4 separate regions of the Homo sapiens genome follow, and regions 1, 2 and 4 are each linked to region 3. The links are contacts of gene promoters, found by promoter capture Hi-C in human tissues and cell types (Jung and others, 2019). All regions are on one chromosome and are shown on one strand. The core of a region is centred on a gene start or on the middle of the fragment in contact, and the rest is flanking DNA. Distances in the headings are between cores, read along the strand shown. Region 1 overlaps SHB (SH2 domain containing adaptor protein B). Region 2 has its middle 24 kb from the start of SLC25A51. Region 3 holds the start of POLR1E (RNA polymerase I subunit E). Region 4 holds the start of DCAF10 (DDB1 and CUL4 associated factor 10).

Region 1 (3,693 bases), core at 116-2,615, 440 kb after region 3:
TCAAGGCAGCTGGGATAAAGGAGCTTAGGAGGCCACGTGGCCAACACCTGCATCCTGCCCACAGCTTCCAAAGCAGCCTTCACAGTGACAAGCCAAAGACACACACACCAAGTTATTGTGAACAAACGTCTCAATGTAAACGCTGCTGAGCAAAATGACGTGATTTACAACCAAATAATTAGACTTTCAATAGACGCATCAGCAGCGATTAGCCTACCCGAGACGCCAGGGCATTTCTCAAGCTCTAAGTTGGTGGCCCAGGGTGAAGGCCTTCAGTAAATCATGACAAAAAGCCATCTCTAGGCAGGAGAGCTGGCAGATGCCTCTCCTGGCGAACATGTAGAGGCATAAGGCTCGTTTTAGCACACAAAGCAGTAGGTATGTCAAAATGAACCCATTTTGGGCAATTTTTCTCATGAGAAAACCAACACATTATTAGACAAGAAGTTTTTAAATGATGAGCGCTCAGACTGAGGGAGTAAGCCTCCCATTACCAGGGGTGTGTAAGTGGGAAGGCAATGACACTTGGTGGGTGGATCCCGCTGGATGCCTTTTGTAGTCCCCCCTCAGGGTTCCCACCAGCCTCAGCCAAGTGCACGTGGAAACTGCAAGGAGGGCTGGACGCAGAAGCGGAGGGGGATGGTGAAATGCTGCCAAAGCTTCAGGAAAGGGAAACAGGGTCTAGGGCTTCTTTCTTTCCTTCCTCTCTTTCTCTTTCTCTCTTTTTTTTTTTTCTACCTCTAATTGAGGACTTTTCTAGGAACATGAAGGCCTGTGTGTCGGAAATTATTTTTCTCCACTCTTCAGCCCTGGGCGCTTCCCCAAAGGGAGGAAGTTCAAAGTCTGATCCCACTGATATCATTGGCTGGGCAAGTCCCCTCCCCCTGGGCCTCAGCGTCTCCCTCTGGAAAAGCTGGAGGGGATCCCTTCAGTGCTGAGTTCTCAAGTCAGTGACGGACATGCCAGTGTGGGTGGGAGCACCACAGCAGGAGGAACAAGGCAGGGCAGAATGGCTCCCCTCATGGAGGGAGACAGGTGGGTACACTGGCCACAGTGGATCCTGGGCTTGGGGACAGCAAAATGACAAAAGCAGGCTTCTCATGCCTGTGCCAACAGGATGGACAGAATCCAGGCCAAGGGTGATCTCTTCCTACTGAGGACAAGGCTATCTGAGCCCTTAGGCTCCTTAAAGCAGTGGCTCCTACCTGGGGCAATTTTGCACTCCCTCTTCCCTGGGGAATACTCGCAATGTCTTGGTACATAGGTGCTACTGGCATCTAAGTAAGAGGAGGCCAGGGACGCTGCTAAATACCCTACGACGCACAGCACAGCCCCCACAACAAAGAATAATGTAGCCCAGCTTCCCACAGTGCCTAGGCTAAAGCCACACCACTCGCTAGACGGCCAGTGCCTCAAATTCTGCATCCACAACATGGGAATAACCAGAGTCCACCCTTGCTGCTGTGGTGAGGGGCAGATGAGAACCTCCACATGAAGTGTGAACGTCTGACGAATCCCGGCTCGCCTGGCCCCTTATGTAAAGGTGTAAGACACAGAGCGGAATCTGCCAAATGGCTTGGTTCCAGAGGGCTCCAGGCTGTTTCCAAGGACAGGACCCCCTAGTCCCACCTGAGCAGCACATGGTGGGAGATGTACCACATCTGAGGAGACTCCAGAGCAGGACCATGCAGAGGCTGGGCCAAGGCAGCCTCGGGGGAAGCCCCAGCTGCCGAGGGGAGGACTTGGAGCGCACAATGGCTTTTATAGCCCAAAGGGGGCCAGCGCCCTGGGGTTGACCCAGGCAGGGCTGGAGAGGGGGGTGGGCCTTGGGGTGCCTGAGGATGGTGCTGTACGCAGCCCAGGCTCAGGGCCACCCAGACCTGTATCTGAGTCCCTGCCCTGAACTGTGCCTGGTCTGAGCTTCAGGTCCTCATCTGGGAAGTAGAGCTTTCACTGTTCACCCACAAGGGTAGTCTGAGGTCTGGACAGCAGGGAAGCAAGGCTCGCCAGGTGCGGAGGTGCCGCCGAGTATGCAGGATGTCGTTGGAGCCTGGTCACCTGGGTACAAATCTGCACTCTTTGGCAGGCCCCTCGGATAAGCATGACGTGAAACAGGGGGCTGGCACTAGATTCCAGCTTAATGCATTTTTAAATTTTTAAATGAAGAACAGTGCCTTTCAGAAAATACTGACGCCAGTGCAGGACTCAGGGTCCTGGCGTGGGTCTTGTTCTCATCTGCTGGGCAGGAGCCACTGCACCAGTGGCCGCCTGTCTGGTGTGTCTGGTGCACCTGGCTGGCTCTGTGCTGTCTGGGCTGAGCACTGAGCTAGGTTTCCCATACGTCTGCTCTGTCATTCACGGCTGCATTGGCAGCCCAGAAGCCATGGATGTGGCTGCAGGAGCGTCTCCTCCAGTTGGGCAGCCTGCCTGGCTGGGGTGGGATACCTGGGTTCTGGCCCAGCTCTGTGGCCGGATGACACGGGGCAAGGCGTTTACTGCCCTGAGATCGATTTCCTGAAACATCAAGTGTTCTTTCACCACAGTCTCTAAGGCACACTGTTGCACACAGGATCCACATGAAAAGAGAAAAGGAAGCTGGGCGTGGTGACTCATGCACTCCCAGCACTTTGGAAGGCCAATGCGGGAGAATTTCTTGAGCCTAGGAGTTTGTGAGACCAGCCTGGGCAACATCGTGAGACCTCATCTCTGTAGAAAATTTAAAAATTAGCCGGGCATGGTGGCACACGCTTGTAGTCCCGGCTACTTGGGAGGCTGAGGTGGGAGGATTGCTTGAGCCTGGCAGGCTGAGGCTGTAGTGAGTTGTGTTCACACCAATGCAGTCCAGCCTGGGCGACAGAGTGAGACCCTGTCTCAAAAAACAAAACAGAAAACGAACTAAACAGGAAACTGGTCATAGATGGTCAATGGCATTTATTAAGTGTCTACTGTGTGCACTGCTCTAAATGCAACATTTCTGAGGGAGACAAGACACCAACCAGATACTCTGAGATCATTTGGTTCCCTGTCATCATTTTACAGATGACACTGAGGCTCAGAGAAGGGCAGAGGTTTGCTCTCTTTCCGCAATACAGCCCCTGCCCCATGCCTCTATTGCGGAGGATTCTCTGGCAAGACCAGCAGACTAGAGTCTGCAGTAATGGGGTGTGACAAGCTGGGGTGGGGGATGTGGCAGGGGGAGGGGACATGCAGGGAGGGGAGAGGGGAAGGAAGCAGCAATGCCCCCTGCTCCTCATTTCTCATCCCGAGTCACCCCATGGACCTTTGCTCTTGCTAAAGCACAGTGCTCACCCTCACCAGTCTCTTCCTGGCCCACCCTGGTGGGGGCCTCCTCACCAACTGACCAAGGGTGTTCACCAGCACAGCAATGAAGCGGACTCACTATCCACAAAGCACCTTATCTAACTTAGTTTTATTTAAGAAAAAAAGTAAAGATGAGAAACTCAACAATCCTTATCAAAACCCCAATGTCATTCTTCACAGCAAAAGAAGAAACAATCCTAAAATTCATGTGGAACCATAAAAGACCCTGAGTAACCATAAAAGACCCTGAGTAACCAAAACAATGCTGAAGAAGAAAAGAAAGTTGGGGGCATCACACTTCCTGATTTGAAATTATATTACAAAGCTATAGTAATCAAAACAGTATGATACTGGCATACAAACAGACACATA
Region 2 (4,109 bases), core at 1,550-4,049, 390 kb after region 3:
TTGCAGGCGTGAGCCACTGTGCCCTGCCAGGACTGGCTTTTTAAAGAGGCAACAGGGCCAGGCATGGTGGCTCATGCCTGTAATCCCAGCACTTTGGGAGGCTGAGGTGGGTGGATCACTTGAGCTCAGAAGTTTGAGACCAGCCTAGGCAACATGGTGAAACCCTGTCTCTACAAAAAATACAAAATTTAGCTGGGAATGGTGGCACACACCTGTGGTCCCAGCTACTGGCAATGCTGAGATGGGAGGATCGCTTGAGCCTGGGAGGCTGAGGCTGCAGTGGGCCAAGATTGCGCCAATGCACTCCAGCCTAGGTGACAGAGTGAGAATCTGTGTCAATAAATAAATAAATAAATAAATAAAGCAAGAGGTATCAAATATTCACAACAGAGATTTCTGCCTCTCAGCATGGGTGCAACTTTCATCCCACTCAGGATAATAGTGAGAGCTGAGGTACTGAACATTGCTAAAAAACTATGTGAGGGTAAAACAAAAGAGGTCTATGAATTGCTTGTTAGATAGGCCAGGAAAAGTCCTGCAATCTAAGGACCAGATTACAGCAGGAAATGCAGTCAGAATCACCTGGAAGGAAAAGCTGCAATCTCAAATAAAATTACCAGTTGCATTTTTCTGTTGTTACAGGAAGCAGGTATTAAAACTGCTTTCACCAGAAAATGTGAGGAGACAGCTTTCATTGTGCCCCAGTGTGAAATAATTCCAACTGAATGGTTTGCAGAAGAATACCAACTGGTTCTTCACTCGAAAGAAATCCTGGTGTCAAGGAAGGATGTGAGTTTTGCCCACCTAAAGTGGAGATGTTTTTCAAGGATGATGCCAATCATGACCCACAGTGGTCTAGGCAACAGCTAATTGCAGCAAAATTTGGCTTTGCTGCACTTGGTATAAAACTGAAGTGGATATCATGAGTCATGCCACATAGGCTGTTTTTGAAATCCCGGAGAAATCCCGGTTGCTCCCAGAACTGTACACCGGTTGATATGAAGATTGAATTTGGTGTTCATGTGACCAGCAAAGAAATTCTCACTGATGTTATTGATAATGACTCCTAGAGACACTCACCATCGGGGGAGCAAAGCCAATAGAAAGACAGTCTTTTAATCATACTTTTAAAAATGTTATTTTAAAAAAATAGAGCCAGTCTTGCCATGTTGCCCAGACTCAAGCAATCCTCCTGCCTTAGCCTCCCAAAGTGCTGGGATTACAGGCGTGAGCCACCACTCCTGGCTGAAACAGTCTTATCAAGGCTTCAGTGTAACTCCTGAAGGGTTCCAAATGGTAAGGAAAAACTTTGCGTGGGTTGTAGAGAGTAGAGTTGCTTTTGAAATCAGAAAGTCAGTGCAGTGTTATAGTATTGATGGGTTCTACTTCTGATCTTAATCACCGTGAAAAAAATCAAGGCCTGTGGAAATTTTGGCATTCCATGTAGACTTTGAGTAACATCTGCACATAAAGGACCAGAAGAAATGCTGAGGATTAAAGCTGAGTATGAAGGGGTGGCAGTCGTACTGTATTTGTGGCAGTGGCAGGCAGAAGCAATGGTTTGGGATCAGTGATGTTTGGGAACACTACACATCCAGTTATCTATTGTCCTCCCCTCACACCAGACTGAGGAGTTCAGGATGTGTGGTCTTCTCTGCGACTACTCAGTGGTCTCGGCTATTCAACCATACTTTCTCCAGAAGGATCAGCTCAGTTTGCTACTCAGATATTTGGATTAAACAACCATTTATTATGGGGCAAACTGCAAGCAAGCACTTTGAACACATGGATTTTTTGGAAGAAAGGTGACAAGAAAATCAGAGAAAACATCATTGCATTTTTAGGGGGAAAACTACAAATTTCTAATTTAGCTGCAGAAAAAATAATTAGAGAACACAAATAAAATGTACTAGTGAATACATGCTTCTCTAGACCCAAACAAAAACTATTTGCAACGTAATTAAAACAGGTTAAGTGCTGTGAAAAATAGAAACATGGTGACATAGAAGAGCCTGACGGGGGAACCTAACCGAGTCCTGAGAGTGTAAGCCAGCTTCCCCAAGGAAGTGACACTTCAACCGAGATCTGAAGGACAGCAGTCTATAAATGAAGTAGAGAAAGGCAGTGCTGAGGGCAGAGGGCACCTGCATGGGCAGAGGCTGGGAGCAAGATGAGTACAGCGTGCCCCAAGTAATCAGGAAGTGCCAGTGGCTGGAGTGCAGAGACAGCAGCGCAGTTTTAGCTAGAGATGAGAGTAAGGGAGGCAAGGGCTGGATCATCCTGTCTCCTGTAGGCCACAGCAAGATGTTTGGTCTTTATGGCAGAGGAAAAGCATTTATTGAAGTGACATTTTAAAAAATTACTGATGGCCGGGCACGGCGGCTCACGCCTGTAATCCCAGCACTTTGGGAGGCTGAGGCAGGTGGATCACTTAAGGTCAGGAGTTTGAGACCAGCCTGGCGCAAAACTGTCTCTACTGAAAAAATACGAAATTTAGCCGGGTGTGATGGCGGATGCCTGCAATCCCAGCTACTCCGGAGGCTGAGGCAGGAGAGTCGCCTGAACACAGGAGGCAGAGGGTGCAGTGAGCCAAGATTTCACCACTGCACTCCAGCCTGGCGACAGAGACCACGTCTCAAAAAAAAAAAAAAAAATTATTGACAATATGAAGAATAGATTGAAGGGAGATAGGAACTGAGATAAATCCTATTTTACCTTCGATTTCTACTTTAAAATCACATATACTCATTTGGACAAAAAATTTCCTAGTTGGGAACGTCAGATAAATAGATTTAAGGCAGCCGGCGCGGTGGCTCACGCCTATAATCCCAGCACTTTGGGAGGCCGAGGTGGGCAGATCACCTGAGGTTAGGAGTTTGAGACCAGCCTGACCAACATGGAGAAACCCCATCTCTACTAAAAATACAAAATTAGCCAGGCGTGGTGGCGCATGCCTGTAATCCCAGCTACTTGGGAGGCGGAGGCAGGAGAATCACTTGAACCCAGAGGTCGGAGGTTGCGGTGAGCCGAGATCACGCCATTGCATTCCAGCCTGGTCACAAGAGCGAAACCCCGTCTCTAAATAAAAAAGTAAATAAATAAATAAAAAGATTTAAGATGGGAACCAGTCTCTTGGGGATTGGGAGTGCTCTGTAGCTATGCAGAGATCCCCCAGGGCTGTTCCTGGTCACACCTACTCCTCACTCTGGAGGTCTAGAACTCTACAGTGGCTGCTATGGGTGGGTTAAAAGATTTCATCAGATGATGATTAAACACCCTTTTTATCAAATCTAAATGTACAAGTTCAGGATATTACACTTATTCTTTATGATGGATTTCAATCCAAAACAGGACTTTTAGAAGCAACTGCTCCTTTACCTTGCTGTCCTTATCAGGCAACCTCAATGATCTCTAAAGCCAGGAAACAACCTAAAACTTAACATGCAAATTCACAATGTGGCTAAAACTTCACACTCTCCTAACCAATGAGCTACAACAGAAAGGAGCAGCTCTGAAGGCAAAAGTAGATATAAAAAAAAAAAAAAAATGAAAAGCACAAACATCCAGACCATGTAACTTGGGAGTAAACATTGCATGAGGCTACTCTATTACAACAGAAAGTACTGATAAGCTAAACCAAGAAAGTTTAAACTCAGTAGAGAAGTGTATTAAATATGAGGAAGACCTTTAAGAAATAAAATGTGGCCAGGCACAGTAGCTCACGCCTGTAATCCCAGACTTTTGGGAGGCCAAGGTGGGCAGATTGCTCGAGCCCAGGAGTTCAAGACCAGCCTGGGCAACATGATGAAAATCTCTACAAAAATTAGCTGGGCTTGGTGGCACGTACCTGTAGTCCCAGCTACTCAGGAGGCTGAGGCGGAAGGATCGCTTGAGCCCAGGAAGTCAAGGCTATAGTGAGCCATGATCATGCCACTACACTCCAGCCCAGGCAATAGAAACCCTGTCAAACAAACAAACAAAAAGCTTTGCAGTTAAACTACCTGGAAAATAAAACTTATATGAAACCCCTCTTGACGAAATAAGATGGATAGACAAAGGAATGTTTTACCTGCAACATCCCCAGGTTAAGTTGCTAAAAGTCAAGGTAG
Region 3 (3,664 bases), core at 305-2,804:
TGTGGTGGCACACACTTGTATTCCCAGGTTGTGGTGAGAGGATCACTTGAGCCTGGAAGGTCAAGGCTGCAGTGAGCCCTGGTTGCAACACTGCACTCCAGCCTGGGTGACAGAGTGAGACCCTGTCTCAAAAAACAAACTAACAACAAACGTTGGGACAATGGGTGAACTTAAATGGGATGTGAGGATTACATGGTGGTAATGTACCAGTGCTAATTTCCTGATTCTTTTCTGTTTAATTTTTTTTTTTTTTTTTGTCGCCCAGGCTAGAGTGCAGTGGCACCATCACAGCTCACTGCAGCCTCTGCCTCCTAGGCTCAAGCAATCCTCCCACCTCAGCCTCCCGAGTAGCTGGGACGACACGCGTGCGCCACCACACATGGCTAATATTATTTTTTGTAGAGACAGGGTCTTGTTATGTTGCCCAGCCTGGTCTCAAACTCCTGGAATCAAGGGATAGAACTGCCTCTCCCTCCCAAAGTGCTGGGATTGCAGGCGTGAACCACTGCGCCCGGCAATTTGCTGATTCTGATGGCTGTGTTGTTATTTAGGGAATGTCTGTAGGAAATACTATAGTCTTCAGGGTTGAAAGGGTATCAGGTTGACAACTTACTCTAAATGGTTCAGGGCAAAAACATTTCTTGCAGTGTTTCTTTACGTTTGAGATTGGGTAATTAGAAAAGCGTGACAAGTGCTCAGGCAAAGGGGCATGCAGGCTTTAGGGTTATTCCTAGGATCCTGGGTGTTGGAGGCGGGTGTTGAGGGTGTGTGGAAGGAAAAGAGTCTTGAAAGAAGGTGATTTGGAAGACAGAGGGGAGTCAACCGGAGTTCTTGCCCTTCAATAGTACGCATCTTTGGGCAAAGGGGGCCTCGGCCAGCGTCCATGCTTAAAGGCCCTGCTTTCGCCTTCTTTCTGCTCTGAAAACTCCCCGTGCAGAAGAAGGGTTGAATCCGCAGTGAAAAAGGGACATGTCCATCAGCTCGGACTCCCTCTTCTATTCCAGTCCAGAATCTCCTGCCCAAAGGCTCCGGGGTTGGCTGGGCTTCTGTTCCATCACCTCAGTGTTGATTGGGCCACAGGTGTGCACGCCACAGCCCATGGCGGGGAGCTGTTTGTCGGACTGTGGACAAAGTTTGTACCTAGAGCTGGATGTCCACGTGGGTGGGTGGGAAGCCCTAGAGAGGGGCGGCTATTCGCCAGCGGCCACATTTAGTTGGGGCTCAAGCAGTTCCTGTCAGAGAATTCTAAATTTGAACTTGGTCCTTCAGGTCTTGGGAAGATGAGTTTGTCACGGTAGGAGAGAGAGACGACACTCTCTTTAGAAGGTGCTGAGCCGGAAGAAGGCTCATAGCAAGCTTAGGCTGAAGCCTTTGGCGCCTCGGGCTCTGGACCTACAAAACCCAGAGTGCACGCGAGCGCTGAGCCAATCAGGTGCTGCGCCTCGGCCAGTCAAGCGGGTGTGTGGCACCTTGTGGGCGGAGACCACGCCTCTCTACGCGGGGGGCGGGGACACGCGGCTCGCGCGCTGTGGGCGGTGCCCGGCGGGGCCACGCCTTTTCCGGCCCGCAGCGCGGCCTGGGCTCCCGCGTGTTTAAAAGTGCGCTTGTGGCTGCTGCTGTCTTAACTCCTGTGCTTGGCGGACAGACAGGCGAGATGGCGGCGGAGGTGTTGCCGAGTGCGAGGTGGCAGTATTGTGGGGCGCCCGACGGGAGCCAGAGAGCTGTACTGGGTAAAGACTGCGGAGCTGGAGCAGTGCTCCTCTAACCCTCTCCCCTTCCGTCTCGGTACCTCAGCTGTCCTCTCGCCCTCCGTTGGGCTTCTCCCCAGCGGGGCCGGGACCCCTCTAGTCTCCACCACTCCCCTGGGCTCTGTCAGGGCTCCCCTGTCCGTCTTTCTGTCACTACCTCCCAGCCAGATTGGGACATCCCACTCACCCGCTCCCCAGAGCTGTGTCCAGGACCCTGCTGACCCCCTCACCCACCAGGTCTCCCGCCTCCCCCATTTCCCTCTCTTCACTGGGCAGGGGTTCCTTCTGTCACTTTAGGTATGTACCAGGCCTCTGCTGTCAGCCTCCTTCCGCGAGACATTCCCTCCTGTCACAGCCCCTCCCCAGGGTTCTCCCACCTCCCTACCTCCTCTTCTCAGCTGGCCCCGGATCTCCTCCAGTTCCCTTTGGGTCAGGACCCGAGCTTCCTTGCCATCCCCATTCTGACACTCCCTCCCAGTGACAGTCTAGTCCCACCGTACATTGTGTGGTACATTGTGTGGCCTTCTGCTCTCATCTCATTCTTGGGCTGCACTCTTACAGTCCAGTTCTCCAACGGGAAGCTACAGAGTCCAGGCAACATGCGCTTTACCTTGTATGAGAACAAAGATTCCACCAACCCCAGGAAGAGGAATCAACGGATCCTGGTAAGTGAAGCAGTTGCCAGCTGTCTCCACTCTGCAGGGCTCAGAAGGCCCCTGGGAGTGGGTGGATGTGGGAGGGAGTGAGGGGAGAAAAAGGGGAGTAGTAGCAAATGGAGCTTTGAAGAACTCTGATGCCCAGCAGCCTGGGATGTGGGGACAGGCTCCATCTTTCATTCATTTGTTCTTTCAACAAGCATTTATGGAACCTGCCCCTCTGCATCCCTGTGCTGCAAGCTTCTAGGAAAACAGCCAAATCAGGCCTAGCCCCACTCAGAGTTCATACTCTAGAGCAGGGTTTCTCAACCTCAGGACTATTGACTTTTTGGGCCAATAATTCTTTGCTGTGGGGGCAGCATCCCTAGTCTCTACTCATTAGATGCCAGTAGCACCAGAGTGGATTTCCCTGGATTGAGAACCTCTGCTCTAGAGAGATGAGAACTGGCTGTGAGGGACACTTTTACACAAAGCTCTGAGGCCACGTGGGGAAGAGTACAGGGCAGAGTGAGCTCAGTGGGAGGAGAGGTCTCTGCCAGAATGCCTTCCTTGGTGAGGTCATGTTGGAGCTGAGCCTTGAAGGCTGGAATGAGGGTTTGGCAGTCAACGTTTGGTGTTTCGAGTGAAAAGGATAGTGAGGACAAATGCAGAGAAGCAGGAAAGCTTGCTTATGATTGGGGAGTGAATCAGCCATGGTCCTGAGAGTATACAAAGAACAGGCCAAAGAGAGATTGCTTACAGAATCACTTTGTTGCATACCTTTAAGTGCCAGAAGCCCAGGGCCTCTCTCTCAAGTCTTGTGGCAGAATTCCCCCAAGAGCTTTTCATACCATTTAGAAGCTAGCACCATCTGAGGCTTCTCTTCCAGAAGTCGTCTTGCTTCCCCTGCAGGGACACCCCATATTCCCTTAGAGATAGTGGGGCTGGATCATCTGCCAGAGATGAACTAGTTCTAATCCATTGTGAGTCTGGATTCAAAAGCCTCAGCAAATGTAGAAAAGAGAAATGATGCTTAATACCTTTCAACATTGGTTGTAAATGGAGTTTCCCCTCTCTGCATTTTAGGCAGCTGAAACAGATAGGCTCTCCTATGTGGGAAACAATTTTGGGACTGGAGCCCTCAAATGCAACACTTTGTGCAGGTAATGGCAGGGGAAGGGACAGTGGGAAGGGTGATGGGGTTGGGAGTGGTGGCAGCACTGGCACTGCTGTTTCCTGTCTGTTTTAAGGGTAGCAGGAGCCATCTAGAGAGGTTTACTA
Region 4 (4,133 bases), core at 471-2,970, 310 kb after region 3:
ATTTCTCTTACTCCTTTGGTTTGCTCAGGACTCCAGCGGCCTCACTCTGCCTTATGACTTTTCAATCCCAACCATCATGGCCAACTGCCTCACTTCTGATTTCCCAATTCAAATTCCCAAGAGCATGAGTCTGTATGGGCAAAGACTTTTGGTCTGGCAGCCTCATGGACCAGTGGCTAATCTATAGCCTGGTTACTCAAATAGTTGTCCTACCCCGGCTAGTAGGCAAGGAAAGCTAAGTAACAGCTACAAAATTCGACAGCCTAGGACTTCTAGGATGGGTTCAGTAGAATATACGTGCTGGCATACACATGAAGAGTGTGAATGCCAGGCAAGTAGGCTGCTACAGTAGATTGGACCCATCCAGGGGGTCTCCAGAGAAGTAGAACCAATAGGAGATATAGATATAAGAGAACATTTAATATGGGAATTGGTTCATATCATTGTAGAGGAGTCCCATGATCTGCAGTCTGCAAGCTGGAGAACCAGGAAATCTGGTGGTGTAATTCAGTCTGAGTCTGAAGGTGTGAGAATCAGAGGAGCTAATGGTATAACTCCCGGTCCAAGACTGAAGGCCTGAAAACTGACGATGAGTCCCCAAGTCCAAAGCCCGCAGAACCGAGTTTTGATGTCTAAGGGCAGGAGATGGATGTACCAACTTAAGAGAAAGTTAAATCACCCTTCTGCCTTTTTGTTCCTTTTCAGTCTTTAATGAATAGGATGATGCCTGTCCACAATGGTGAGGGCAGATCTTCTATTGATTCAAATGCTAATCTGTCCTGGAAACACCCTCACAGGCACACACAGAAATAATGGTTTTCCAGGCTATCTGGGCATCTGTTAGCCCAGTCAAGTTGACCCAGAAAAGTAACTATCACCTATTTGCCATCTTTCATTTAAGCCCAGATACACAGACTGGCTATCTCAGCCATTCCTTGGGTAGCACATCCAAACCTGTTTCCTCTCAGTCTCTCCTTTGCCTTGTGACAAATAGGTTTTGGAAGAAGCTGCCTGTGGTCACCCTGAACTTGTTGTGCCTTTAAGAGTTGGGCATGCTGGCCAGGCGCGGTGGCTCATGCCTGTAATCCCAGCACTTCGGGAGGCCGAGGCGGGTGGATCACGAGGTTCAAGACCAGCCAGGCCAAGATGGTGAAACCCTATCTCTACTAAAAAATACAAAAAATTAGCCGGGCGTGGTGGTGGGCGCCTGTAATCCCAGCTGCTCGGGAGGCTGGGGCAGAGAATTGCTTGAACCCGGGAGACGGAGGTTGCAGTGAGCCGAGATCGCGCCACTGCACTCCAGCCTGGGCGACAGCGCGAGACTCCATCTCGGAAAAAAAAAAAAAAAAAAAGAGTGGCATGTCACCTATTGTGTGTGGCCTGCACGTAATGCACTAATTCTTAATCCCTCGCTGATCCCAGTGTAAAGTGGAGACACCAGTACATACTCAGCCTCACAGGACTGACTGGTCAGGCCACTCATCCCCAGGCACGCGGCCACCGGTCACTGACAACTACAGACCGACTCTGCCACCCAGATCAGGTGCCCAGATGCTCAGTCGCTCACACAGGTAACTACTCGCTCCCTACCTCCGTTCCCGGGACTGCGGCGCCCCAAACCCGGCGGTGTCTCAGCTTTCCCGGTCCCCGGCGGACGGTGGCCGAGGGGCGGCGCGGGTTTCCAGCCGGTGGGGTTAGGCCGCTGCACGCCGGAAGTGGCAGCTGAACAGGGGCACTGAGGTGTCGGCCGGCGGGGCAGTGGCCCGGAGCGGGGGGCGGGGGCGTTGATCATGTTTCCCTTTGGGCCCCATAGCCCTGGAGGGGACGGATCGGCCGGAGCCGGGGCTGAGGAGCCGACGCCCCACGAGGGGCAGGCAGCAGCCACCGGGCCGCCCTCGCCACTACATCCCGGGGCTGATGCGACCCATCCCCCTCCACCCGCCCGAAGCCCTCGCCGCCCCGGCGCCCCATCGCTGTCCCCGGCCCCGCGCTCCGGAGAGCTAGGGCTGCCTGGAGCTCCGGAGTCCTCAACTGCCTCCGCCCCGGGAGAGCCGTCACCTCCCTCCCCTCCGTGCCGGCGGCCCGGGCCAGACTGCAGGGCCAAGAGCCGGGGCCGACACGGCCTCGGCGCGGGCCTGGGCGGCCCTGGCGCTAGGCTGTTCGGGTGGCTGAAAGAGCGCAGCCTGGGCCGCGGGCTGTTCGTGGACCCGGCGCGGGACAATTTTCGCACCATGACTAGCCTCTACGGTTCCATCCACCCCGCGGACTCGGTGTACCTCAGCACCCGCACCCACGGCGCCGTCTTCAACCTCGAGTACTCGCCCGACGGGTAAGCGCGGCCCCTCGGAGGGCGGGCGCCCGCCTCCGCCCGGCTCTGCTGCCAGCGGACGGCCGTCCTGGGCTCGCTCCCCGCGCCCGGGCCGAGGTTAGCGAGGCCGTTTGGGGCCGCTGGCCTTCGTGCCTCCTGGCACTTTCTGAAGCGCATTCTCGCCCTTGGAATCCCCAGCCCAGCTTTTTGAGGCAGGCAGGCGGGGCCCCACTTGCTCGCCTTCAGGACTTGGGCTCTGTGAAGGAGAAATGCCCGAAGCTACACAGCGGACCTGTCAGAGCCAGCCCACAACTAGGGCTTTCTGGTACACAGTAGGTGCTCAGTAAATACATTTTGAATAAATGCCCGCTTTCTCCCCATCATCCTAGGCTCGCGTTTTCCTACCTAAACCTGTGTCGGGGTAGGAAAGCTGTAGATTCCTTGCACTCTGTACCTGAACTTGCCATGATGGGGCAAGTGCGTTCCTTTGCTCAAGGAAGATACAGTACTAAGACACTGTAGAGACGTGGCTCTCATGATTTGGGTCATTTGTGAAGTCCCCAGGCTAGACTACAGCCTTTTTCTTGGCTGATTAAATATTTATTGTATGGCTTTGCTTTAAAGGGAACTTTCCAAAATCGTATCTATTTAAAACTTTGTCTTGTCAGTACACAAGTCCGCCATCAAAAGAAAAAATGTGCACAGTTCCACCATGAGGTGACATAGTTAATGTAATTCTTACCCCACCAAGCCTCTCGGTTGCTAGTTGTTTACTCAGTTGTTCATTCATTCATTCTCTCATTCGGCGTATATTTGTTGAGCACTTGCTATGTTCCAAATGCAGGAGTAACCATGCTGAGCAAAACCAGCTAATGGCACTGTTTTCATTGAGCCTGGGACTTAATGGTTCAACTAGATAGTAGATAGCCTTACTAAATAATGCATAAAATATATTTGTTAATTGAGATAAAGTCTTGAAGGAATCTGTTATGGACACTGTGTTCACGGATTCCCTGAGGAAGTGGCACCTAAATGAAAATAAAAATGAGTACGAAATAAATTAGTCAAGATAGGGTTGGGAAAGGGATAGAAGTATTTCAGATGGAGATGATTGGTATGTCAAAGGTCGTAGAAGGGCAGCATATCATGTTACAGGAGGTGAAAAAAAATAGGTTTACAAAGCAAAAAATTTTACTGAAGAAAGACCTGAAGTTGCTAAGGAAGGAGCAAAGGAATAGAAACAGGAGTTACTGTGAGCAAGTAGACTCTATTCCATTTCAATGATGGAAGCGCTTCCTAATCACACGTGGTGCTGGGGTCTCTGGGGTCTCAACAGCAATTGGTTGGAGCATGTAGCAGTGGATGCACACCTGAATAAGGTGGAAAACTGGTGAGAGGAGAAACTATTTTGCTGAAACTTATTCATGGAACCTCGCAGCCTCCTTCCTTCAGCCAAGCCCTATTCCTAAAGTTTCCCTCAAAACACGAACAGTCTGTCCTCAAATATTCAGTTTCTCTCTTCATATCCCGGCCCCTCTCCTCCCAACCTCCTACCGATACTTTCAGGAATTCAGAAGCAGCTATTTCTACTTTTTGGATGTGGGATTTTAGGTGGGAGTATAATGAGAAGAACAGATTTTAGAGCTGTTAGAATAAGGGATATATTGCTTAGTTTTTGTTTGAATCTAGAATGTATTTTCTCATAACAGTTTTGTAAAAGGTGGTTAGGAACTCTTGCACTTAATTCCATAATTTTAAATTACACAATTAACATATATGCTCATTGTGTAAAACCTAGGCAATAAATGAGCAAAAAATACCTAAA

What was found. The method cuts DNA at HindIII sites, captures the fragments that hold promoters and counts their contacts. A contact is called where the count stands out against the background at its distance.
Region 1: a contact is called between a fragment that was not itself captured here and the fragment with the promoter of POLR1E in region 3, in 1 of the 25 tissues and cell types used here (lymphoblastoid cells).
Region 2: a fragment that was not itself captured here is called in contact with the fragment with the promoter of POLR1E in region 3 in 1 of the 25 tissues and cell types used here (dorsolateral prefrontal cortex).
Region 4: a contact is called between the fragment with the promoter of DCAF10 here and the fragment with the promoter of POLR1E in region 3, in 1 of the 25 tissues and cell types used here (mesenchymal stem cells).

Annotation. Positions count from the first base shown.
Region 1 is chr9:37,927,229-37,930,921 of GRCh38, forward strand. The region is part of intron 5 of SHB (SH2 domain containing adaptor protein B); the gene reads right to left. Among named protein-coding and RNA genes, the nearest start is that of SLC25A51, 25 kb to the left of the region's middle. The HindIII fragment of the contact is 4,083 bases long and covers 1-3,407 here.
Region 2 is chr9:37,877,671-37,881,779 of GRCh38, forward strand. It overlaps a transcript of SLC25A51 not described here and the pseudogene PAICSP1. Among named protein-coding and RNA genes, the nearest start is that of SLC25A51, 24 kb to the right of the region's middle. The HindIII fragment of the contact is 3,161 bases long and covers 1,220-4,109 here.
Region 3 is chr9:37,484,394-37,488,057 of GRCh38, forward strand. POLR1E (RNA polymerase I subunit E) reads left to right here and starts at 1,555. Exons shown (of 12, transcript NM_022490.4): 1 at 1,555-1,730; 2 at 2,310-2,413; 3 at 3,470-3,546. The coding sequence starts at 1,655. RefSeq lists an enhancer at 1,020-1,611 and a silencer at 1,353-1,682. The HindIII fragment of the contact is 4,331 bases long and covers 1-2,855 here.
Region 4 is chr9:37,799,077-37,803,209 of GRCh38, forward strand. DCAF10 (DDB1 and CUL4 associated factor 10) reads left to right here and starts at 1,721. Exons shown (of 7, transcript NM_024345.5): 1 at 1,721-2,329. The coding sequence starts at 1,791. It overlaps LOC105376037 (a long non-coding RNA gene), which reads right to left and starts at 1,815. Exons shown (of 3, transcript XR_929599.3): 1 at 1,591-1,815. RefSeq lists enhancers at 1,250-1,851, 2,803-2,852 and silencers at 1,693-2,212, 2,433-2,492. The HindIII fragment of the contact is 16,578 bases long and covers 1-4,133 here.